Regions from separate parts of the Homo sapiens genome. Here regions 2, 3, 4, 5, 6 and 7 are each linked to region 1. Evidence: promoter capture Hi-C in 16 types of primary human blood cells and fetal thymus (Javierre and others, 2016). All regions are on one chromosome and are shown on one strand. Each heading gives the region's core, a stretch centred on a gene start or on the middle of the fragment in contact. The rest is flanking DNA. Distances are from core to core; before and after follow the strand shown. Region 1 holds the start of MASP1 (MBL associated serine protease 1). Region 2 has its middle 58 kb from the start of SST. Region 3 has its middle 18 kb from the start of SST. Region 4 overlaps LOC100131635 (hCG1645011-like). Region 5 has its middle 37 kb from the start of SST. Region 6 has its middle 78 kb from the start of SST. Region 7 holds the start of RTP2 (receptor transporter protein 2).

Region 1 (2,722 bases), core at 165-2,664:
GATTGAGTTTCTCTATGAATGCCGTCTGTGTGTGTGCATTTGAAATTCCATATGCATTATAAAATGTTAATGAGTAGCAGTGTAATACAGTGGCTAACACTTCAAATTCTGCCTCTATTACTTTCTAGCTGTGTGAACTTGGGAAAGTTACTTAACCTCTCTGGGCAATTTCCTCTGAAAAATGAGAATATTGCCAGCCATGTATACAACATATAAAGATGACTGAAAAGAATTCATATATTAAGTGCTTAGAGCAGTGCCTGACACGTAGCACTCAATAGCTGTTAGCTTCTAGTGCTAGTGGCAGTGGGGAGTCATAAATAACTGGATGATCTTGGCAAGTGGCATATTCTCTCTGAGCCTTAGTGTCCTCACTTGTAAAATGAGTATAACAGCAGCACTTTCACCAGTTTGCAAAAGTAACTTGAGATGATGTTAATGACTAGTACTGTGTCTAACACAGAAAAGGTGCACAGTCAAACTTAACTTTTACACCCAGATACACCTCTCCCTATTCAGTGTTGGTTGTTGTTGTTGTGGAGGGGGTAATTTTCTTATTATTCAGCTCATCTTAGATCTAGTGTTGATTTCTCCGGAAGCCATGGGTATAGACATATATACAGGCCCAGGTCTTTCTACACCCCTGGGGAGGTGAGATTTCTTGCTGCGATGGGCCCTTTCTGGGCTGGAGTAGAGCCGCACACACTCCGAGCAAGTAAACAGTGCCACAGGTATTGCTCATGGGGAGGAACAACCAGCCAACTTCAGGACTTGGTGCTTCCCCAGTTCCGGGCCCGTGGCTCTGTTCACAGGAAAACCTGTCGTTGTGTGTGACTCTGATCACGAGAAAACCTGTAGTTATTTGGGGCTCTGCTCACAAGGAAACCTGTAGTTATTTGCAGACAGACGCTCTGGGATTTAGACCTTTTTTTTTTCTTCTAGTGTAGGTGCTAGAATTGCCTTCTTAGTTGGTTGTTTCTATTTAATTGCTTTTCTTTCATGGGTGTCCTGAAGAAAAGCAGAAAATTATAGTCATCTGGCAAAAAAGACTAAAGAGAAATTAGACTTTGTCCCCTTTCACTCTCTCTCTCTCTCTCTCTCTACACACACACACACACACACACACACACACACAGAGTGATACAAATACCTGCTTGAGCCCCTCAGTTATTTTCTCTCAAGGGCTGAAGTCAGCCACACAGGATAAAGGAGGGAAGGGAAGGAGCAGATCTTTTCGGTAGGAAGACAGATTTTGTTGTCAGGTTCCTGGGAGTGCAAGAGCAAGTCAAAGGAGAGAGAGAGGAGAGAGGAAAAGCCAGAGGGAGAGAGGGGGAGAGGGGATCTGTTGCAGGCAGGGGAAGGCGTGACCTGAATGGAGAATGCCAGCCAATTCCAGAGACACACAGGGACCTCAGAACAAAGATAAGGCATCACGGACACCACACCGGGCACGAGCTCACAGGCAAGTCAAGCTGGGAGGACCAAGGCCGGGCAGCCGGGAGCACCCAAGGCAGGAAAATGAGGTACGTGCCAGGGGAGGAGAGGGCACGGTTCCCTTTTGGGGACCAGTGTCAAATAGCAGGGAAGGTCTGACCTTGTCACTGACAGACTCACCTGCGTGTCCTGCATGTGGTAGTGAGGGGCTTTCTCATCAATTCTTAGGGCTCTGAGAAGGGAGCTGTGGGTGGGCTGGGTGCCTTCCCCAGGACTCCAGGAGACATAAAACTTGAAACGGGAGACTTCGTGCAAATCCTGCTCCGGACGCTGCTGAAGCTCAGATTTCTCCCACTGCCTGCACAGGGTGCTGCCTGCTGGCGAATGTGACTCTCCTCCTGTTCACCCACAAGGCTGATTTTTCCGTGTTCCTCCTCTGGAAAGAGCATTGCTTTCTCTCTTCCAGCACTTTGTGAGTTAGATATGTGTTTGTGTGTTCATTCCTTCTGACCAGAAAAGAAACCAGCTTCCCATAGCTTGGCTCTGTGGTTTCTTCAACCTTTACAAGTTTGCCAGTTAAACCTCAATTTAGAAAACTAAAAATCTGTCCCCATTTTACAGTTCCCTATAAATTTTCTGCATTTCTCATTGAAATCAGAGGCAGCTGGTGGCATGAATCAGGCTATGAAGTACACCAAATGGCTCTTAAAGAGATATCATACTTAAAAAAAAAAAAAGGATTTTAGAGTTCTGAAATCAAGAACTTCAAATTCTAATTGGTTTTAAACTCTTTAACCTTTCTTATTCCTCATTATACTTGACACTCCTTACCAGACCTTTCATACAAGTTCTATCCTGCAAGTCTGAAAACCCAACCACCCTAGTTATTTTTATTAGTTAAGTGTTAATGCTGTTACACACACACACACACACACACACACACACAATGCTCTGCAGATGTGTAAGTCCCTAAACACATCTTTTACTATTAATTTTCTTTTCACTTGGGAAAGTGTTTTTATTTGTTTCTCTTCTGCAAAGTAACCTAGCAACTTTTCTGGACCTGAGACCAATGAGAGGCTTCAGACTATGTTAACTCTTTGAACTCCGATTACCTGTGGTTCAGAGAGATAACCAGGTCCTTAAAAAGTGAGTGCAATAATTCTGTTCTTCTTAAAGCCATAGTAATTTTAAACCTGCCATTAAACATCATTTTTCTTTCTCCAAAAAAAAGTGATTTATGTCAATCTACATTGAATGATAATCTCATTTATCTGTCAATGATCTG
Region 2 (2,702 bases), core at 14-2,513, 320 kb before region 1:
AAGAGAGGATGGAGGAAAGTGGGAGGTTTTTGTTTTTTGTCTGTTTGTTTGTTTGTTTTTCCGAGAGGTGTCCAAGAGGGATCCAATGCCACGGGATATCCAATTACACTTCGACAAGGTTTATGACTGGATGTGAGGATGGTAAAAGGGTTCCATTATGATAGAATAAATCCAGTAAATAGTGTCTGTGTTTAGATCCCCAGGACACAGTGTTTGCCTTTGTTTAATGGTTTAACTTTTTACTTGTTTTCCCTTTCTTTTTTTTTTTTTTTTTTTTTTTGCCTTTTCGTAGCCAGAGGAAGAATTTGCAGCAGCCAGCACACCAGCGGCTCTGGTGTTGGCTTGGGAATGCATAAGTGAAACTGGTCCACCTTCAGCTATGCTCTCCTTCCTTTGGAGCCAGACCAGCCAACCTGGAATCAGCACTGAAATTATGCCCAGAGCCTCCTCCCTGCTGCTGCATGCCAGGCAGCCCCTGTCTTGCCTGGCCTAATGTACCTCTCTGGGAGACAGTGTGCACTGGCATTTCTGCCCAATGGGACATTACCTGCCTGGGCCTCCGGTAAAGAGCAAATCACTGTTAGAAAATTTGAAATGGTTGCAGAACTCAGGAGCAGATGGCCTTCTCTCTCCACTGGGAGGGAAGAGACGAACCCCAGAGGAGAAAGAGAAGTTTTCTCTTTCAGAATGGCAGAAAAATGTATCTTCATAGAAGCAGCCATAGATGACCATGGCAGGCAGTGCTCTTGGAGAAGGTCCATGGTAACTGCCTGTGATATAGAAGTGGACAAGGGAGGCCACAGCAGAAAGTGGCCCATACATACCCTGGTTCATGCCAGGCCAGAGCCCTGAGGGTGCTAACAGGGACCCTGAGCTTAGAGGTAGAAAACCTCAGTCCTAGCCTTCTGATTCCAGATTAAATAAGATAGTGATAATAAAAAGTAATAACAGCAAACATATAGAGCCTTTTTTATGCACTAGGCCCTGTTGTGAGTGCTTTTACATACATAAATTCTTTATTCTGTTTAGTCTTTGTAGCAACTTTATGAGGTAGAAACAATTGCAATCCCCATTTTAGAGAAGATCTATGAAAATAATGCCTGTAGAAGAATAAAAGCTTCTTTATATGAAGCACAGAGTGTTAGTTCTAGTAAACCTCCCAGGGCTTTTGTGGGGTTCAGATGGGATCACATCTGTGAAGCACTTTAAAGTGCTGTCCATACATGAGAGAGTCCCATTGCATCATGGTTTCTCCTGCATTTTCCTTGTCCATTTGTTGTGAGCAAATGGTAAATGGCATAAAGCCAATACTGCAAGAGAAATCAATGGAAGAGACCCAGCACCCCGTGAGTGATTGCAAAGGAAGGAAGATGGAGTAAGTGCCAGGAGGACAGCCCAAAGAAGCTTTAAAAAACACAAAAGCAAAAAACCCATAACCTTCTTTTCTGATTGAGAGTAGGGTGGAGGTCAGGAAAAAGCCTCTAGGGGAGATTGCTTCAAAATTAAACTTCAAAGGGTCAATAACTCTGTGCTGTTCTGCCTTCTTCCCAATAATGACCTACCACTGAATATCCTGTGAATTCTTTCTTTTTTATTTTGTGTTTTTGGTATTTTACAGCATTTTAAGAATGTGTTTGAAGCCCCAAATGAAAACAACTCTATCAGTCCTATTTGGTCATCACAAGCAGACTTAAGCTGCACAAACTTCCAGGGGCACCATTATCTGTTTATGAACAACAGGCAATCAGGCCAATGAACCATGTTATTGTCATTCCTCTCATGTCTCTCAAATCATTTTTCATCTTGACTAATCAGGAGATAAAGTTGATCCTTCTCCACTTTCCACCTCCATACTCATTTCAGTTCCCTGCAGTTTCACGCTGGGCTGGGCTGTTTGAAATCTAGTATAAAACACCCGAGAAGAGCTATAATTTTCAAATTTGCCCATGGGTAATGTGTGTAGTAAATGTAAAGTACTAGCAATTTGGTTGTTTGAGATGCAATGATTTTTTTTTTTTACATCAATGTGCAGGGTCTGAGGCAGGCACAAGTTTCCAGAGGCAATATATATCACTGCTGGCCAGACCCCTGGGAGTCCATGAGGGTCACCCAAACAAGAAAGGGAGGAGGCAAAGTGAGGAAACCAAGGGCCCCCTCAATGCTGATCCCTGTGGAAGTTTTAACACAAGACAGCACGAGGGGGTGCCTACAGGGGAACTACTGGCTGGTTACCTTGAGGGGTCCTAAAGGATGCCTTCCTTCCCTCAGAGGATTGACCATGGCCTGGTATCTGACCCCCAATCATGTAGGCTCAGGATTGATTTTATTACCGCCAGGAGTGTGTGCTCTTCCAGGGCAGACTCATACTAGCCAAACTCACAATGCTGATGCACAAAACTACAGCTTCTCAAGGAAGGACCATGGCCACAAGGCCCAGACCACATACATCAGTATGCCAGAGCTGTCTCTTCACAGAAGAAAGCCTCCCTGGGAAGCTAAACCTTAATCAGGAGGCTGCTCGCTGAGAATGAATTCATATCAAGAGGAATCTCACAAGGAAAATAGTGGCATCAGGCTGTCCATCCAGCAAAGGCCTAGGTCTGGACTCTAATGATTTTCCCTCCCCAAGACAATGCTTGCATGGACACTAATAGTTCTCCTCTCTGTGACATTCTTTAGTGATGCATTTCTGACTAGCCATC
Region 3 (2,700 bases), core at 99-2,598, 360 kb before region 1:
CATGTTGTCAATTTCTGTTAGTAAATTTGGGTAAGTGGGTTCCTAATGCTAGCTAGGTTTAGTTCTAAATGCAGCGTCCCATGGTCCTCAAGGATTAGTAAACAAAATCTTCTTTGTATATATTTAATTTAATTACAAGGAATATTGAGTGCCAATGCACTGACTTGGTGCTGTGGATATTCAGAGACATAGCCCTTGACCTTGACAAGTCCCATCTGGAGTGGAGACTGATGTGTTCATGGCTGAGTGTAGGAAGTCCTACATGTGAAGTGCAAAACAATTGCTATGGGGACACAGCCAAAAGAAAAGACTTATTCCCATTCAGGGAAATCAGAGGAACTGGGCTTTCGATAGAGGGAAGAGGGCAGAGCCATGTGAACATTTTTCCAAGTCAAACAGGTAGCAAAACAGGTAGGAAAACACAGGCTGTGTTTCCAGAATGACGAGAGTCAGTTCCAAGGTGTGTCACTGTCATCTAGATTCTCTGTTGGACCTTGAAGGACAATTTAGGCAGCTGTTTGTTTATCCGTTTTGGGGGTGGTTGATGCAGGGAAACAAGTCTTTCCCTGGAACAAGTGGAGGATGTATGAGTTCTCTTTTGAGACTGCTTGTGAGCATTTTCCAATTTCTTTGAGAGACTAAAAAGCATTAGCAGAGGTCAAGGAAAGGACATTATTGTTATACTCTGTAACACTAGAAGAAAAACACAACGTTGAAGTAGGCTGTCAAGATATTTCTCAACAACTCAACCTAAAAGTGGCTTCAAATAAAAGAGCCAACTGGAGCCTGATCCATTAGCATGGAGCCCTTTATTTCCCTAAATGAGAGCTGTGTCAGTATCCTTGTGTTTGTCTTAATTTTTACAGAAAGCTACTCACTTGGTCATACCTATGATAAGTTTAAAATTCAGGAAAAAGCATTAATCAGAATTTTAGAACCGTGGGGATGATCTATTGGATGTGTAAGACCTTTATTTTATACAAGACGCTTAGATAATGTTTGTTTTATATATTTTTCACAAGTATCAATTCACTCACTCAAGTTCTCAAGATAAATGTCCTAAGTATTTGCTATGTGTGAGGATCTCTCCTAGCATTGATGATACAAATATGCCTATGGCCTCTCTCAAGGAGCTCATGTTCTTACAGGAAAAAACTGTCCTATAAAACAAAGTTCCGACTAAGTGTGATAGCAAGTATAGTGGCAGCTCATAAGGCGGAGTAAATGAAACTGTCCGTGGGAGAGGGAGTATTGGAGAGCTTTGCAGAGGAGGCAATGCTTGCACTGGTTCCTGAGGATACATGGAAATTTATAAGATGAAAATAGTTGCAGGATGATTCAGTCAGAGGAAAATGAGAGGGAAAACGACTAAGTATGAGATGTGTTGATGAGTGGCTTAGAATCATTTGGTGGCAGGTAAAGAGACTCATTTCATACTTATTTAAACAAAAAGGGAATGCTGGATAGAAAATCATGACATCCCACAGATCCTGAGGGCCCAGAGCTGCCAAGCCAAATGAGGGGGTTGAACCAAGAACTGAAAAGGAATCCAATGAACCATAGATATCTAATTTATAGCTCTGAGTCTAAATTCCAAATTCTTGATAGAGAATAACTACCTGGCCCAACCTGGCTCGAGAATCTGTTCCAGTCGTACCATAATGATCAGAGTGGGAAGATCGTAGGGTACAAACATAGTTTCCCAGGCTCTCTGCTATGGATGAAAACTTTAAAGATGGGGCCTTGAAGGCTGCAGAGACACTCTAAAAGATGTCTGCTAATTGACTGCAAGCTGTTGGGAGACCTCAAATAAGAATTGGGAATTTTTGTAGTGCTAAAGTGCAGTGGAGTTGAGGGCGGGGGGTGGGGGCAGGTATGTCAATAGAGACAGATGAGATTGCAGGACTGGCATAGAGCACATTGTGCAAGATTCTCAATTTTTTTTTTTTTAAGATAATCAGGGACTTTAAAAAGTCTGGGCATAAAACAATCAGAATTGTGATTTGGGTGGTTAAGTATAATAGTGGTGTGGAAATGAACTGGAAAAGGACAACCTGAAAGAAGAGAAGACAGGTTAGAGGTTGCTGAAGTAGTCCATGTAAGAGGCTAGAGCCTTAACTAGATAATGAGAATGGATAAAATGAGATAAAATAGGAAGAAATTTAGGAGAAATAAATAACAGAATATTATGAACTATTCAATGTGTCTGAGGATTGAGGAGAGAAATAACATGATTGTCACTTTTCTGATATAAGCAGCAGAGCAGAAGGTGGTGCCATCCCCAAGGCAAGGACCAGAAGAGGACAAGGTTTAGGGGGAGCATAGTGGGTCTGCAGTGGGCATGGGGAGTTAAAGTGCTGGGGACCACCCAAGAGGAACTGGTGAGTGAGAAGATGGATATTCCCTCAGGAGTGAGGTTGGGGGCTACAGATGAGATCTGGGAATCATCAGCTGATGCTTGGCAGTGTAAGCCCAGGGGTGATATTGTCCAGAAAAAGCATGTAAAGTCAGAAGAGAAGCAGAAAAAGGAGAGAGTCCTGAAATGAGTCCACAGTAAGAGGTAAAAGGAAGAAAACCGTCTCACAAAGGAGACCAAAAAGAATAACCACAGAGCTGAGTAAACCAGAAAAGAAGGGTATCCTGGAAGCCAAAAATGGAGAATTTCAAAAGACTGGGAAGTCGTTTATCAGCACTTTGCAC
Region 4 (2,748 bases), core at 53-2,552, 430 kb before region 1:
CTCAGTTTGCCCAGTTTTGGAAGTGAGAAGGCCCATCTTGCTTTCTGGCTTCACGAACAATTTCTCTCTCCTCGGCTCATGGGGCAGTATGAAGGCATGTGGCCCCAGACATATATTTCTCAGCCTGAGTGCATCTGGGGCTTTTTGGTGTCTGCTGGGTGATTGGCAGACATCTGCAGACTCAGAAGCTTTATGAATGGTTAGTGGCCAAGCAAACCTCCATCCCTGCAGAGGTGCTCTGTCCCAAGAGCCCTGCGGCAGAACTCAGCCACCTCCTCCAGTGTGACTTGGGACAAGCACTTTCCCTCTGGGTCCCCTTTCCAACCTGTCCATGAGAGTGAACTACACCATTTATGATTCCCTGATTCAGATGTAAGTTCACCCTAGCTTGCTTTGCACCTAGTTTTATTTTACCTCAAAAAACGCCAAGGATCAAGTTTGACCTGAGAACAGTGAGGACAAGTGTGGTTCTGGTCACTGGCCCAGAGGAGAAGCCTGCACACCCCCCTTCCTGTTCCTGGGTGGCAGTGGGGAGAGCATGTGGAGTTGAGCCTGTCCCCAGGGCCATGGGCCCACTTGTTGGGCAGCCGTGTCCCTTGGCAGTGCCTTTGCAGCAGGCTCCGAGCACGTGCTGGGAAGCCATGGGAGCTGACCACCCAGCACCCCACAGAGAGCCTCAGAAAGGCACAGCACCCTCTGCCAGCTGCATGGCCTTTCAGCTCAGGTTTCCTTTGAAAATGACTTTAAAGGACTTGCCAGCTCGAGGCCTCAACTCACCCTGCTCTTTGAAAAGGGAGAAAATGATCCCTCTGCTCCCATAGAAACTTGGCAGGAGAACTTACAAAACAGACAGCTTCAGGAATGACAATTCACAGGCCTAAGGGAAGCTGGCCCCAGGGTCCCTTTGCTCCCAGAGTACCTCCAAGTTTGTTTGCATTTCATTACTGTTTAATAGAGAGATGGAGGGGCGAGGGCAGATAGTGTGGGTGGCCATTTAAACAAAAGGGAAGATCAAAGAGTGAGTAACTGCAGCCAATTGACAATCAATAATAACTAAAAAGAAAAGTCTCTAAGCAGATAAGCCAGGGCAAAGGGAATATAAAATGTTTACTAAAAAGCAAGATGTAAATGCAGCTTTTCACCCATACATGGAACATGCGTGGTGTTCTACATTGTGGGATTTTTAGAGGATAGGTTTCTGAGGATCAGTGTGATGAGGATGTGTAAGGGGTAATCCCAGAGAAGCGGGGTGGTTAGAATTATGCAGAGCTATTTAGTAGTTGGAAGGGAAGGGGTGGTTAGAATTATGCAGAGCTATTTAGTAGTTGGAAGGGATGGGGTGGTAAGATCACCTAGCTCAAATCTTGCACCTGACCCATGAAAGGATTGAGGCAGGAGGGCTGAAGGCACTTTCCTACTGCCGCCCAGAGCCTGGGGTGGAGAGTGGAGAACAGGCTCCTGCTCTTTACACAACCCTAAGGGAAGGAAAACCAGAGGCAAATGTTCCATTTTAATTTTTAATATTTATTTATTTATTTATTTATTATTTTATTTTTCTTAGAGATGGAGTCTTGCTCTGTCACTCAGGCTGGGGTGCGGCAATGGCACCATCATAGCTCACTTGAACTCCTGAGCTCAAGCAATCCTCTTGCCTCAGCCTCCAGAGTAGCTGGGACTACAGGGGCCACCACCATGCCTGGTTACAAATGTTCCGTTTTAGACATGGGGAAATGGAAGGAGGAACTAGTCCAAGGTCCCGCAGCTAAAGGTGTCCGGGTAGGCTGAGTTCGCACAGTGGTTGTCATTAGAACTTTAATCAGTTCAATTCAATTGTTAGGCCTCAGGCTTCTTGGAGAAATGAGCTATTCCCTTTGAAATCTGGGTTTCCATTTTCTCTCTCTGTCTCACTCATAGTAATAATTAATAATAAGGCTGGTCACGGTGGCTCACCCCTGTAATCCCAGCACTTTGGGAGGCCGAGGCAGATGGATGACTTGAGGTCAGGAGTTCGAGACCAGCCTGGCCAACATGGCGAAACCCCGTCTCTACTAAAAATACAAAAATTAGTCAGGCGTGGTAGCGCATGCCTGTAATCCCAGCTACTAGGGAGGCTGAGGCAGGAGAATTGCTTGAACCCAGGGGGTGGAGGTTACAATGAGCCAAGATCGTGCCACTGCACTCTAGCCTGGGCAACAGAGTGAGACTCTGTTTCAAAAAAAAAATTAATAATAATAATAAGTTGTCCTGTGTTCTATCAGAGACATGCATTGGTAAGCACTAAGAGAATTAGAATGAGGAATAGGAGCAGAGAAAAGCTGACCCCTGAAGAGTAGCTGGGCCACATTAACGGCAAAGCTCCAGAATGAGGTCTGCAGAACTAGGGTGACCTTTCAGGATCTAGTTCTATGAAGCTTATAATTGTGTGGGGGTTTCTAGTCTTAGATTTCTAGGATAATCCATCCCTCTTATAACCACTGTATAATGGGGTCACTGCCTTCATTTCTACACCACTGCCGTTACTTGGACTGGCCTGTATGAGTCTATTTCCTGGAACCAAAGGAGCATAATTTACACACAGATAGCCATGCTTCTGGGGAGTCTGCCATTAGAAGGACCCTTACGCTTCACAGATAGCCATGCTTCTGGGGAGTCTGCCATTAGAAGGACCCTTACGCTTCACAGATAGCCACGCTTCTGGGGAGTTTGCCATTAGAAGGACCCTTACACTTCTTTGACTAGGCCCAAGCT
Region 5 (2,759 bases), core at 96-2,595, 340 kb before region 1:
GAGTGCAAGAGTTGAGGCTTGGGAGCCTCTACCTAGATTTCAGAGAATACGGAATAGCCTGGATGTCCAAGAGGAGGCCTGCTGCAGCGGTGGAGCCTTTATGGAGGACCTCTACCAGGGTAGTGCAGAGGGGAAATGTGAGGTTGAAGCCCCCACACAGAGTCCCCACTGGTGCACTGCCTAGTGGAGCGGTGAGAAGGGGATCACCATCCTGTAGACCCTGGAATGAGAGATCTACCAGTAGCTTGCATCCTGTACCTGGAAAAGTCACAGGCACTCAATTCCCCAATTAAAATGGCGACTTCAGTGATCTCAAATACTATTGCTTGCACTTTGGTTATTTCAAATAACCTGTTATTTGAGAGCAGCTGCAGGTACTGAACCCTGAAAAGCTGCACGGGTGGAGCTGCCCAAGGCCTTGGGAGCCCATCCCTTGCATCAGTGTGCCCCAGATGTGGGATATGGAGTCAAAGGAGATTACTTTGGAGCTTTAAGATTTAATAACTTCTCTGCTGAGTTTTGGACTTGTGTGGGGCCTGTAACCCCTTTCTTTTGACTAATTTCTCCCTTTTGGAATGGCAGTATTTACCCAATACCTGTATCCCCTTTTTATTTTGTGATTAACTAACTTGTTTTATGGGCTCATAGGCAGAAGGGACTTGCCTTGCCTTAGATGAGACTTTGGATTTTGGACTTTTGAGTTAATGCTGGAATGAATTAAGGTTTTGGGGACTGTTGGGAAGGCATAATTATATTTTGAAATGTGAGAAGGACATGAGATTCAGGAGGGGCCAAGGGCAGAATAATATGGTCTGGATCAGTGTTCCCACCCAAATCTCATGTCGAATTGTAACCCCCAATGCTGAAGGTGGGGTCTGGTGGGAGGTGACTGGATCATGGGGGTGAATTTCCCCCTTTGGTGCTGTTCTCATGATAGAGTTTTCATGAGATCTGATTGTCTAAAAGTGTGTGGCGCCTCTACCCTCTCTCTGTCTTTCTCCTGCTCTGGCCATGTGAAGTGTTGGCTCCCCCTTTGCCTTCTGCCATGATTGGAAGCTTCCTCAGGCCTCCCCAGAAACAGAAGCTAATTCGCATCCTGTACAGCCTTTGGAACTCTTAAGTAATGAAACTTCTTTCTTTATAAATTATCTAGTCTCAGATATTTCTTTATAGCAATGTGAGAATGGACTAATATAGGGAAGGAAAGTATAAAAGAATGAGGAAGTAAATAAAGGAAAAGTGGAGAGAAACAGTAGGATTCCCTCTCCATTCTTTATCAGAATCAGATGATAATTACAGCTTCACTTGAAGTTAATTTCATTAAATTGTGAAATTGAACAGTTTGCAGACACTCACATAACATTTATATCAGTAGTTCTCAAACATTAATAAGTGAAGAAGTCCCTTTTAGCCCAGGAATCTGTACTTTAAACAAACTCTCCAGATAACCCTGGAGCGAGTGGTCCTTGAACCACCCTTTGAGAAAGAAACACTGTATTCCCTTAGTGTCTCATTTTTTATTCATTCAGCCAATGAGTGTTTATCAAGGCCTATTATGTGTCTGGCACTGTGTTGGAATATGAAGAAACAGTGATGAATAGGTTGGGTAAAATCTCCACTTCTGTGAAGCTTGTACCTGAGTGGGGAATCCATGCAAAGGCATTCTGAAATAAATAGAACAGGCAAAAGTCTATTTTACTAATCAGGAAACTGTGATTCAAAGAGGGACTCTTCTGGCTCCAATTCAAAGCCTTTCTGAATAAACAAACAAAACAACTTACAAATATATAAGCATAAAATATACTTTAAGAACCTACTTTCTTTGTTCCCATTCCAACCATTTTCCTTTGAAAGAAAGGGAATGAATGGGCACAGGGCTTTTAATTGTTGCTCACAAAAAGTGCCATGACTGTGATTTTCATCATGGTGCTGCCCCTCAGGTCGATGGTTCAGAAATACAGGAGCATGAGTAATCTTCCTTCATTTGGTTACTTCGTGATTACAGGCATTCTGGCTCTGATGCCCTGGTCTCCCACTTGCTAGCTATGTGATCTTGAACAAGTTACATAACCTCCCTGATATTATGAACCCAAAAATATCCGAGGCCGGTCTCAATTAACTTAGAAAGTTGTTTTGCTAAGGTTAAGGACATGCCCTTGACACTGCCTCAGGAGGTCCTGATGACCTGTGTCCAAGGTGGTTTGGTCACAGCTTGGTTTTATACAGTTTAGGAGACATGAGGCATCAGTCAATACGTGTAAGACATACATTGGTTTGGCCCAGAAAGTCAAGACAACTTGAAGTGGGGGCTTCTAGTAGGTAGATAAGAGACAAAAAGTTGCATTCTTTTGGGTCTTTTACAGCCTTTCATTGAAGACACAACTCACATGTGAGTGGGGGTAGAGGAACTTATGCCTTAGTCTGACTCAGTGAATCTGCATTTTTACATAAGCAGTAGGGCAGAAGAAGCAATTGGATATGCATTTGTCTCAGGTGAGCAGAGGAATGACCTTGATTCTGTGTGTCCTTTGTACTCCATCTGTGAAGATAAGCTATCAATTTACATAGCCAAGGTGAAATTCAACAGAATTGGTTTAAGGTGAAGGTCTTGAGGCCCACAAGAAATCGCCTGTTGGCAAATTGTGAGGGAGATATGTAGCTTTTAAAGCAATCTTTGTAACTATCTTATCTTGGAACTAAAATAGGAGGCAGGTTTGCCTGATGCAGTTCCCAGCTTGACTTTTCCTTTTGGCTTCATG
Region 6 (2,743 bases), core at 88-2,587, 300 kb before region 1:
ATGGAGTGAAGATGAGATTAGACTCGCATCATGCACCTTCAAGAGGCTGCATAACCAACAGATGAAAATTATAGAGAACAACATTTTAGCTGACAATCAGAATGATTTTCTAACAGCTGAGCTCTCTGAAGATGACATGAGCTGCCATTACATGAGCTCAGTTCTGAGAGGCAGTGTGAACTGTCCTTGGCAGAGGAGTTGTGGTTGAGTTATTGAGACAGCCAAGTGTAAAGGGATCCCTGGAGAACCTCTGACCTGCCTGCACACTGGGAGGACTGTGCATTTGGGTGGAGCCTCGGGAAGCTCATGCCGGTTGCAGTAGGCAGGAGCCTGGCCCCTCCTCTTCCTGGGTGGAAGCTGGGATTCAATCTGATGTGAGAGCATGTTTACAGGAACCTATCTCGTGTTGCTGAGTTTTTTTCCTTTTCGCCCAATAAATTCCATTTTTCTCACCCTTCAAAGAGTCTGCGAGCCTAATATTTCATGGTCATGTGGCAAGGACCCAATTTTTAGCTAAACTAAGGAGAAAGTCTTACAACATTATGATGGAAATTAAGCTGGAGCCATCAGAAAGTCTGTCCAGCACAGAGAATGATGGTATTCCTTCGTTTAAGAGTTCAAAATCTCTGCAGCTCAAAAATCACCTATCTAGCATAACTAAACACACACACACACGTTATTTTATCTTCCTGATTACAATCATGACAACCTAAATTGATTGAGCATTTACTATATGCCACAGAAGTTTAGCTCCTCATATGCTTTATTAAATTTAATCCTTCTCACTGTCCTATTGAAAGTTTATATTATTATGTATTTCATAGATAATTATGAATATTATAAATTAAGTAACCAATAATATTCAGATATTACTAAACATCATAGGCATGTAGTGAGGGAGCCAGGATTTCAATCCAAGTGTGTTTAATACCGGGATCCTAAATACTCTGCTTTTCTGCCTCTTTTCTTCATGAAGCTTAGTACATTGGAAATGCCAAAAATAACCTGGTTTGCGCCCAGAATAACTCAATGAGAATTGGAGGGGTGCTGAAGATAAACTAAAATAATATTATGATTTCTCTGTCATGAATAAGAGACAGCTATGCTCCATTTTGCCCAAGGAAGTAAAATTATCTTATTAATGAGAGAAGCAGAAATTCACAGCCCCAGAGGAGGAAACCTTCCCAGTTTTTGTGGTTCTCCATCAGTTTTAGATGGAGGGGGCTTCTAGATGTCAACCTAATTTATGGCTGCGTCCTTGAAGTTCTTGTGCAGGAGTTGAGGTTGGGGAAGAGAGTAGGGAAAAGAGGGTCAAGTCTGCTCTCCCGAGGAAGAACTTGTTTAACTTCAGAACCTTTGGGAGTTTGAATAATTAAAGGTGTGTGTGTGAGTGTGTTGTTTCCTGTGGAAGATTTTCTGGCCATGACTTCCGGTCATCACAGCTGCTTTAGCACATGCTCAAGGAGGAGTCACTTCAAGTCTGATTCAATTTTAAAATACTAAAAGAGAAAAGAGAAAACAGAAAAGCTCTCCTGCAACTCCTCAAGACAATAAGAAAAACAAACACAGAATTCCCTATGTCAGAAAAGGAGCTCTAGAGGCTCTTTTATCAGTTTGATGTTTGCAGCCACCCTGAGATGATGTTGCAAACTTTGGATTTTTCAAACAATTGATGATTTGCATTCCAAGAGAAGCTTTTCATTTTCTCTACTTTTCTAAAGGTCATGTTATACAAGGGATTCTTGAAGCTGCTTGAGTCATTTGATTCCACAGAGACTCAGGAGCACTGTGGAAATAGCCTCAACTAAGGAATCTGGATATCTTCAAAAGTTTTCAAAGCAGGGCCCTGGAAAGCATGAGAGTTTTAAATGTTGCCTTAAAACTAGTCTGGATTTCCCTTAAAAATACTGGAAAATATTGAAAAATATTTCCTCCTAGCACTTTGGAAGGCCAAGGCAGGAGGATCACGTGAGCCCAATAGTTCAAGACCAGCCTGGCAACATAGTGAGATCCTATCTCTATTAAAAACAATTTTGAATTGATTACAGACATGCCCTTGTCCCAAGGACAAAGGAGCACAGGAGAGGCATCCACAGCAAGAGATGCCAACATATTTTGAAAAGTCTGAAAGTGGGGTAAAGACCATGCCAACACAAGGACCCCAAAAGTGGGGTGCTATGAGAAGTGAGCTGATGTGACCCACAGAACCCTTACGAATCTCAGCTGTGGCAGAAAGAGCAGGGAGAGGGTGCTGGGAGCAAAAGCAGGGAGATTAGCTGGAAGCCTGAAAAAGAATCGTGAGCACTCCGGTTCCCTTTCTTACTACAGACTACTAGGGAGTTAGCCGTGCCTCACAACACTGGAGACCTGAGGCTTGCTCTCTTGGAAAACAGAATCATTTCATTCCTGAGTTGGGGCACCACACATAGTGCAAGGCTGATGTCTAATATATGGCCTAAAACACGGGGAAGGGGAAGGGAAAGATTTGCATACTGAACCAAGGAAGTCTCATTTCACTTTCTAACCGCATCCCACCCGCCCCCTGCCCCTCCCCCTGGGCCTTGGTAGCTGGAGCTCTGGCCACAGGGCAGAATGTGTTTTTCTATGGGGAAACCAAAGGAATTCATTTAAAAAGACTTGTAGATTTTATATAAAGTGCCAAACAAAAGCTAACCAGATGCCTGAGAACTCCACAGAAAAGATAGAGAGTCGGCATGTCCCATCCACAGTCACAAAGAAGTAT
Region 7 (2,734 bases), core at 78-2,577, 410 kb before region 1:
CTAAGGGGATTGCATTATTTGAGGAAAAAAGAAAATACAGGTAAACCCTGACAATTCTCATCCTCTTTCTGTTTTTCCTTTATTGCCATTTGTTCTGGGAACAAGGGTATACTATTTCTCAGAGGTTCTTTCCTGGCACGAGGGTCTAGGCCAGGCCATAAGCTCATCTCAGCTTCGTTCAGTTCCTGGCCATTCATGGATCCCTCTGTCTCACCTGGTCTGGTAACTGGCTTCTAAGGGAATCCCCAGTGAGGTTTGAGCTACCCAGTCCTGAGAGCCTGGGCCAGTAATTTTCCATTTCCAGGCCTCAGTTGTTTTAATTCAATGTCAATAAATTTTGGTTAAGAAATGAAGAGTTCAAGAAATAAACCAGATTTTTAAAAATAAAAGAGCTCTTCTAGAGCTGTCAGTCAATGGTTCAAAGACAATTGTGTCCTTTCTGAGGTCTTTAGCACAAAGCCGCTAGAGTAACACTTTTCATTTCAAGAGAGAATCCAGTGACATTGTCCCTGACTTCACACTTCCTGAAAACCACTTGGCAACTCAACACCAAGAGCTTCCGGTTCTTAGCAACCTGTTTCACTTCTTGAAGCTCTTTACTGTTGGAACTCTGCGTGTCTAGGGATCCAGACTTCCGGGTTAAAGAATCGTAAGATGATTACAGTTGGAAGTTGGACCAAAGCTAGGGTAAGCAGCCATATGCCTGGTCTTTTCCATGCTCAAGGCAGCCTCCCTTCAGGTAACCGTGTCTTCACTTGGATTACCAAATTTGAAGTCAGATTCCCCTCTGGTTTCTAAAGAATTTGAATTGGGCATCACAGAGCTACGGATGCTCTCTTGCTCCAGCTCAGCAGTAATGGAGGCAGCAGGAGCCTGCAGCACAGAACAAACTCATTACCCCAGCAGCCACCTTAGCCTGGCTTGGGACCAGGAACTGAATATGGGCTCTAACAGTTCTATGACGCTATGAATCTGAAATGTTATTACTGTGCTTTGCATGGCATATGAAATTACATTCTAGCTCACCAACTGGTCTAAGATTGCCCTGGGCAAAGAGATGTTACTTCTCACTCAATTCCCTGTTAGGAGCACAATAGTACTAAAATAAATAAACAAATGAGCTCGGTTTCAGAAGGCCTAGATCTGAATCTTGGATGAGCCACTTAGGGGTTGCATAAACTTCAGTTTCCTGATCTGATCTGCTTTGGCCAGCACACAGGTCAAGCGGTTTGTGCTAGGCACATGGTAAGTGATGGTCACAGCATATCAGGGGGTGTGGAAGCAGCAGGCTCTGCCTTTCCCTGTCCCTCATTTCTCCTTGACTTCCTAGGGTGTCGTACTTACCATAGCACATGATGTGGAGAATGCTAGAAGAGCAGTTGGGTGAAGCAGGGCCACCAAATAGTCCTTGCCTCCTGGAGACCTCTGGAAATCCAGATGAGTGTGGTCTGAGGTTGGGCCTCCCACTGTGCTTGCTCCTCTCAGGCCTACCCAGCGCTGCCTCTGAAGCCTAACTCAGGGCCCTGAAACTCCCCCTTGGGGCTTCCCTTCTCCCCAGCCCTCACTCTTGGTGCCCTGCCTGGCTACCATGGTAACAGGTTCCAGGGTAACAGAGGAGGGAGCTGGGTCCTGTTTACTCCCAGTCCTGCCGATGAGGATTCTGACCGTAGACACTGAATTGTCCCGTACCTATCCGTGCTCTTTCTGTGTTCTCACCAGGGCTGAGCTCGAACTGCCACCTCTGCCAGCAGGACCATGTGTACCAGCTTGACCACTTGTGAGTGGAAGAAAGTCTTCTATGAGAAGATGGAGGTGGCAAAGCCAGCGGACAGCTGGGAGCTCATCATAGACCCCAACCTCAAGCCCAGTGAGCTGGCCCCTGGCTGGAAGCAGTACCTGGAGCAGCACGCCTCAGGCAGGTGAGAGGTTCAGTGGGGAGGGACCTTGCAGACAGCCCCTGGGTCACAGCTGTGGGGTACTTTCCAAGGAGAGACAGAGCCCAGTCGCGGGCTTATTCTGGTGTCAGCTCAGATGGGGAAAAAGACAAAGACAGCCGGCTGGGTCAGAGAGTTCTTGCTTTTAATCCTAGCAATACCACTAACTCCCTGGGTGACCCTGAGAAAGTTATGTTCCATCTTTGGGTCTTAGTTGTCCACATTAAATGAAGAGCTGTAATATCATCTATGTCCCTGCAATCTCTGACATTTAGAGTGAGTTGGAACTGAAGGAAGGAGGCCATGAGGTCCATTGGGGAAAGTTTTAATCTAGGAGTTGGGGGAATGCAGGGGGTACAGCTATGCTCTGTTCCTAGATATGTTTAGTGAATTAATCCAATTTGATCTGAATACATAAACATTTATTGACCACCTGCTGTGTGCTACGAACTGGCTCTATATAGCTAAGTAGCCTTGTAAACTTGGCAAGTCTGTTTCCCTTTCTGGCTCTCAGTTTTTATATTTACAAAATGAGGGGGTTGGTCTTAGATAATAGATCCAATCCACTCTAGCTCTATTATCTATGCACCTGTGATAAAAAGATTTAGCTTTGAGCAAAACTTTCTTTAGGAACTTAGAGCCCAGGGTCCCACTCTTTATAGGAGCTGCACATCTACCACAGGGCAAAGAGTCCTTGAGGCCAAGGGGACGAGGCCGTCTAAAGTCCACATGCCTTTCCTCCTTTTAGATCATGATTGGGGACTGGGACTACAGAAATTCCTCCCCAGACTACCTCAAGT

Evidence for each region. The method cuts DNA at HindIII sites, captures the fragments that hold promoters and counts their contacts. A CHiCAGO score of 5 or more calls a contact.
Region 2: a contact is called between a fragment that was not itself captured here and the fragment with the promoter of MASP1 in region 1, in 7 of 17 cell types (M1 macrophages, activated CD4 T cells, total B cells and 4 more). The highest score is 6.5, in M1 macrophages.
Region 3: a contact is called between a fragment that was not itself captured here and the fragment with the promoter of MASP1 in region 1, in 4 of 17 cell types (M2 macrophages, activated CD4 T cells, naive B cells and 1 more). The highest score is 7.1, in M2 macrophages.
Region 4: a contact is called between a fragment that was not itself captured here and the fragment with the promoter of MASP1 in region 1, in 4 of 17 cell types (M0 macrophages, total B cells, naive B cells and 1 more). The highest score is 6.9, in M0 macrophages.
Region 5: a fragment that was not itself captured here is called in contact with the fragment with the promoter of MASP1 in region 1 in 1 of 17 cell types (endothelial precursors); the score reaches 5.3 in endothelial precursors.
Region 6: a fragment that was not itself captured here is called in contact with the fragment with the promoter of MASP1 in region 1 in 1 of 17 cell types (activated CD4 T cells); the score reaches 5.0 in activated CD4 T cells.
Region 7: a contact is called between the fragment with the promoter of RTP2 here and the fragment with the promoter of MASP1 in region 1, in 15 of 17 cell types (M1 macrophages, naive B cells, M2 macrophages and 12 more). The highest score is 12.5, in M1 macrophages.

Annotation. Positions count from the first base shown.
Region 1 is chr3:187,290,429-187,293,150 of GRCh38, reverse strand. MASP1 (MBL associated serine protease 1) reads left to right here and starts at 1,414. Exons shown (of 11, transcript NM_139125.4): 1 at 1,414-1,523. The coding sequence starts at 1,519. It overlaps LOC101929130 (a long non-coding RNA gene), which reads right to left and starts at 1,879. Exons shown (of 2, transcript NR_135551.1): 1 at 1,615-1,879. The HindIII fragment of the contact is 4,632 bases long and covers 1-2,722 here.
Region 2 is chr3:187,611,466-187,614,167 of GRCh38, reverse strand. No RefSeq gene overlaps it. Among named protein-coding and RNA genes, the nearest start is that of SST, 58 kb to the left of the region's middle. The HindIII fragment of the contact is 287 bases long and covers 1,120-1,406 here.
Region 3 is chr3:187,651,396-187,654,095 of GRCh38, reverse strand. No RefSeq gene overlaps it. Among named protein-coding and RNA genes, the nearest start is that of SST, 18 kb to the left of the region's middle. The HindIII fragment of the contact is 4,522 bases long and covers 1-2,700 here.
Region 4 is chr3:187,717,991-187,720,738 of GRCh38, reverse strand. All of the region lies in intron 2 of LOC100131635 (hCG1645011-like), which reads right to left. Among named protein-coding and RNA genes, the nearest start is that of RTP2, 17 kb to the right of the region's middle. The HindIII fragment of the contact is 2,223 bases long and covers 191-2,413 here.
Region 5 is chr3:187,631,910-187,634,668 of GRCh38, reverse strand. No RefSeq gene overlaps it. Among named protein-coding and RNA genes, the nearest start is that of SST, 37 kb to the left of the region's middle. The HindIII fragment of the contact is 573 bases long and covers 1,059-1,631 here.
Region 6 is chr3:187,591,045-187,593,787 of GRCh38, reverse strand. No RefSeq gene overlaps it. Among named protein-coding and RNA genes, the nearest start is that of SST, 78 kb to the left of the region's middle. The HindIII fragment of the contact is 718 bases long and covers 979-1,696 here.
Region 7 is chr3:187,701,150-187,703,883 of GRCh38, reverse strand. RTP2 (receptor transporter protein 2) reads left to right here and starts at 1,327. Exons shown (of 2, transcript NM_001004312.2): 1 at 1,327-1,919. The coding sequence starts at 1,756. It overlaps LOC100131635 (hCG1645011-like), which reads right to left and starts at 1,518. Exons shown (of 3, transcript NR_034062.1): 1 at 1,345-1,518. The HindIII fragment of the contact is 5,389 bases long and covers 1-2,734 here.